Regions from separate parts of the Homo sapiens genome. Here region 1 is linked to region 2. Evidence: promoter capture Hi-C in 16 types of primary human blood cells and fetal thymus (Javierre and others, 2016). All regions are on one chromosome and are shown on one strand. Each heading gives the region's core, a stretch centred on a gene start or on the middle of the fragment in contact. The rest is flanking DNA. Distances are from core to core; before and after follow the strand shown.

Region 1 (2,700 bases), core at 180-2,679, 66 kb before region 2:
TTATGTCTTATTTATTCTGTATCTCCGGAAGAATCATGATTACTTTAAATAACCAAATGTTTTCATTTCAAGAATATTAAAATGGATTGGTTAAGGTGTGATATACACTCAACTACAATAAGGAGATAATAATCTGAGTAATGTTAAAATTTTCTTAATATCTTGCATTTCCCTTTTGCTATGTTGATAAGTTTAAGATGAATAATCAAAAACATACTTAAAATTGTTAGTGTCTTCAATGAATTTTTCTCTATATCCATCTTTGTCAATCGGCAGTTCACTTTGTAGTTTCCTCATTTCATTATAGTCTAAATTCAAGATGAATTGCGCTTTTAGTTCTACAGTTGACCATAAAGATATTAATATTCACTAGCAGTTAAGTAGTTAGGATATTTCAGAGTTTAATGATCAGAACAAATTCTGTGTAAGTTTGTTATATAAGATAATATAAACCCTAATTTCTCTGAAAGTTTTAACATGCAGAAGAATTAGCTTAATTGTGGCTAGTAATAAGTGCCAATGAAGTAAAGACATGATTACCTATTATTCAGTTTCACCAGTATCAGTAAAATGTGGTCCCTTATGATAAATAACTGATCCATGTTTAGAGTTCAGCTTGATTGTTTGTATTTGTGTATACTTTCTATCTTTTTTTTGTTTTGTTTTAATCCTGTCACTACTAATATGTACTTGGTATGTACTTGTTTTCAGAAGGGGACCATCTGGACCAAGATTTGGACCTAGAAATGATAAAATTAAGCAGTAAGTTTTGTTCATTTGTTTAAATGATAATCATATTTCTGTGTAGACTAGAGATTGGCAAACTGCAGCCTGTGAGCCAAATCTGGCTGCAGCCTGTTTTTGTAAATAAAGTTTTATTGGAACATAGCCATGCCCATTTGTTTTCATATTATCGATAGGTACTTTCAAGCTACAATGGCAAAGTTGAGTAGTTGTGACAAAGCTGTGTCACATTTTATGGCCCACAAAATCTAAAATATCTGCTGAGTGTCTGGTCCTTTACAGAAAAAGTTGTTGACCCCTGATGAAGACTAAATATAACTGCTGGGTTATAAAAACCTAATTCATTTTATTTTCTCAGAATTATAGCTAAGGAAATGCAGGATTGTTGGTTTTTTTATGACTTGATTACCTTATGTCAAATCCATTTATTTAGCATAGTCTGAAGGTCTATTTTGGTTTTAAATCTGTAGCTTGATTCCTATTTTCAGAATGATAACAAAGGTAATATAATAGCTTTAATTTGTTGATGTACTGCATGTTTTTATCTACTTCCAGAATTTTTTCATATCTCTTATTTATCATAACCCATATATTGAACTAAGTTTTATGGCTAATTTGTGGTTTAAAACCTTTGAGGTATATATTATTTGGTGATAGATGAGTATAATATGCTGTAATCAATGTGTCTGATATCGGAAAGATATGAGTCCTGACTGGAGGGGAGAAGGAATAGACAGAGCAGTGAGTCACTTGAGGGAAGGCTCTGGAAACTGACCAAGCTGTAAAGACTAACTGTGGAATGTGAACTGCATGGCCCAGGTTCAAGACCTAAGGAGGGATAATAGTCACTACCCTAAGCCTGGGTATAGATGGCACATTGTGGGAAGGGTTCTATAATGAAGTATCTAGTTATTGGTGAGATACTTGGGCTTTACTCAGGTAGCTGTTGGTGTGAAGAAATATTTCCATACTTAGCCTAATTCTAACTAATGGATTTTGAGATATGGAACCAAAGAACCAATAAATGATTACAGGTACTAGACTGGGTGTATTAGTTTTCTATTGCCATGTAACAAATTACCATAAACTTAGCAGCTTAAAACAACACACATTTATCATCTCACAGTTTCCTTGGGTCAGGAGTTCAGGCACTTCTTAGGTGAGCCTTTTGCTCAGGTTTAACAAGATGGCAATCAGGGTATCACCAGGTATGACCAACTCAGGAAGTTATCAGAATTTATTTCCTGCAGCTATAGATGTCATGGTGCTTCTTTGAGGCCAGTAGAAGAGAGAATCTGTACTGTTTCAAGTCTCTTATTTGACTAAAGATACAACAAGCCACTTTTAGATGCAATTTATTACTTATATAGTAAAAGGAAGAGTAGCCAAAGTTAGTAGCTCTCAGGGTCATTGTCCTGCACACCAAAAATAATGATACAGCTGGGTGCAGTGTTTCACGCCTGTAATCCCAGCACTTTGGGATTCTCCTTCAAAGGAGGATTGTTTGAAGCCAAAAGTTTTGAGACCAGCCTGAGCAACAAAGTGAAACCCCCTTCTCTTAAAAAAAAAAGGGGAGGTCAATGGCTGCAGTACAAATTGTGGGATACTCTATTGCAAAGGAGCTATTTCTAGGCTGTGGTTTTTATAGTCTGCACATAGAGCCTGCAGAAAGTTTATACCGCATCAGAACCTGGGAGGTGATAAGAAACTGCCTTATGATAGTCTCATAAGGGAAACAGGGAGGTGGATGGAAGAAGACCTCATGAGCCACTCATTCTCTCATGTTCCAGGGAGATCACAAGCATTCTACCAGGACTCAAATTAGCTGTAGTTCAAGCCTGTGTGGCATATGTGGATGCCAATGTGTAATGTCTGAACCATTCTCCTGCACTGAGCCAGAATGACTTCTTTATCCACTCACATGTTCTCTTTTGCCTAAGCTGCCACTGGAGAAGA
Region 2 (2,700 bases), core at 200-2,699:
TGCTGACTATATGATTGGTTTTTTGAAAAATCATTTCAGCGATGTTTACTATCTGATTCAGAAAATGAGACTAGTACCCTTTGGTCAGCTGTAAACAAACACCCATTTGTAAATGTCTCAAGTTCAGGCTTAACTGCAGAACCAATCAAATAAGAATAGAATCTTTAGAGCAAACTGTGTTTCTCCACTCTGGAGGTGAGTCTGCCAGGGCAGTTTGGAAATATTTACTTCACAAGTATTGACACTGTTGTTGGTATTAACAACATAAAGTTGCTCAAAGGCAATCATTATTTCAAGTGGCTTAAAGTTACTTCTGACAGTTTTGGTATATTTATTGGCTATTGCCATTTGCTTTTTGTTTTTTCTCTTTGGGTTTATTAATGTAAAGCAGGGATTATTAACCTACAGTCCAGAAAGCCTGTGAATTTGAATGAGGAAAAAATTACATTTTTGTTTTTACCACCTTCTAACTAAATTTAACATTTTATTCCATTGCGAATAGAGCCATAAACTCAAAGTGGTAATAACAGTACCTGTGATTTTGTCATTACCAATAGAAATCACAGACATTTTATACTATATTACAGTTGTTGCAGATACGTTGTAAGTGAAATATTTATACTCAAAACTACTTTGAAATTAGACCTCCTGCTGGATCTTGTTTTTAACATATTAATAAAACATGTTTAAAATTTTGATATTTTGATAATCATATTTCATTATCATTTGTTTCCTTTGTAATCTATATTTTATATATTTGAAAACATCTTTCTGAGAAGAGTTCCCCAGATTTCACCAATGAGGTTCTTGGCATGCACACACACAGAGTAAGAACTGATTTAGAGGCTAACATTGACATTGGTGCCTGAGATGCAAGACTGAAATTAGAAAGTTCTCCCAAAGATACACAGTTGTTTTAAAGCTAGGGGTGAGGGGGGAAATCTGCCGCTTCTATAGGAATGCTCTCCCTGGAGCCTGGTAGGGTGCTGTCCTTGTGTTCTGGCTGGCTGTTATTTTTCTCTGTCCCTGCTACGTCTTAAAGGACTTGTTTGGATCTCCAGTTCCTAGCATAGTGCCTGGCACAGTGCAGGTTCTCAATGAGTTTGCAGAGTGAATGGAAATATAAACTAGAAATATATCCTTGTTGAAATCAGCACACCAGTAGTCCTGGTGTAAGTGTGTGTACGTGTGTGTGTGTGTGTGTGTGTGTGTAAAACCAGGTGGAGATATAGGAACTATTATTGGGGTATGGGTGCATAAATTGGGATGTTCTTTTTAAAAAGAAACTCCAAACAGACTTCTGGAAGGTTATTTTCTAAGAATCTTGCTGGCAGCGTGAAGGCAACCCCCCTGTGCACAGCCCCACCCAGCCTCACGTGGCCACCTCTGTCTTCCCCCATGAAGGGCTGGCTCCCCAGTATATATAAACCTCTCTGGAGCTCGGGCATGAGCCAGCAAGGCCACCCATCCAGGCACCTCTCAGCACAGCAGAGCTTTCCAGAGGAAGCCTCACCAAGCCTCTGCAATGAGGTTCTTCTGTGCACGTTGCTGCAGCTTTGGGCCTGAGATGCCAGCTGTCCAGCTGCTGCTTCTGGCCTGCCTGGTGTGGGATGTGGGGGCCAGGACAGCTCAGCTCAGGAAGGCCAATGACCAGAGTGGCCGATGCCAGTATACCTTCAGTGTGGCCAGTCCCAATGAATCCAGCTGCCCAGAGCAGAGCCAGGCCATGTCAGTCATCCATAACTTACAGAGAGACAGCAGCACCCAACGCTTAGACCTGGAGGCCACCAAAGCTCGACTCAGCTCCCTGGAGAGCCTCCTCCACCAATTGACCTTGGACCAGGCTGCCAGGCCCCAGGAGACCCAGGAGGGGCTGCAGAGGGAGCTGGGCACCCTGAGGCGGGAGCGGGACCAGCTGGAAACCCAAACCAGAGAGTTGGAGACTGCCTACAGCAACCTCCTCCGAGACAAGTCAGTTCTGGAGGAAGAGAAGAAGCGACTAAGGCAAGAAAATGAGAATCTGGCCAGGAGGTTGGAAAGCAGCAGCCAGGAGGTAGCAAGGCTGAGAAGGGGCCAGTGTCCCCAGACCCGAGACACTGCTCGGGCTGTGCCACCAGGCTCCAGAGAAGGTAAGAATGCAGAGTGGGGGGACTCTGAGTTCAGCAGGTGATATGGCTCGTAGTGACCTGCTACAGGCGCTCCAGGCCTCCCTGCCTGCCCTTTCTCCTAGAGACTGCACAGCTAGCACAAGACAGATGAATTAAGGAAAGCACAGCGATCACCTTCAAGTATTACTAGTAATTTAGCTCCTGAGAGCTTCATTTAGATTAGTGGTTCAGAGTTCTTGTGCCCCTCCATGTCAGTTTTCACAGTCCATAGCAAAAGGAGAAATAAAAGGACCGGGTGAGATGTGTCTGCATATGAGCAGTAGAAAGTTGTCAATTGTCCCTTTTGAAAAACTATCCTTTTTTGAACCTTTGCTCAGATTGTTATTTGTACCTTTTGATGTTAAAATGACCTTTATTTATGAAATTACAATAGATTTGGGAAATGATAATAAGTGGTAAGTTTTTGTTTATTTTTAAATGTTCTTCCCTGGCAAAATAAAGAGATGGCACCTCTCTGTCAGTTTTCTTAATATGTTGTTCTGAAAGTTTTCTTACTCAGTCCAATCTGAGAACCTCTGCTTTTAAGTCATCA

Evidence for each region. The method cuts DNA at HindIII sites, captures the fragments that hold promoters and counts their contacts. A CHiCAGO score of 5 or more calls a contact.
Region 1: a fragment that was not itself captured here is called in contact with the fragment with the promoter of MYOC in region 2 in 2 of 17 cell types (megakaryocytes and erythroblasts); the score reaches 13.3 in megakaryocytes.

The regions. Positions count from the first base shown.
Region 1 is chr1:171,717,233-171,719,932 of GRCh38, reverse strand. It overlaps VAMP4 (vesicle associated membrane protein 4), which reads left to right. Exons shown (of 8, transcript NM_003762.5): 4 at 712-762. Among named protein-coding and RNA genes, the nearest start is that of VAMP4, 23 kb to the left of the region's middle. The HindIII fragment of the contact is 3,201 bases long and covers 1-2,700 here.
Region 2 is chr1:171,651,437-171,654,136 of GRCh38, reverse strand. MYOC (myocilin) reads left to right here and starts at 1,449. Exons shown (of 3, transcript NM_000261.2): 1 at 1,449-2,129. The coding sequence starts at 1,526. The HindIII fragment of the contact is 6,597 bases long and covers 1-2,700 here.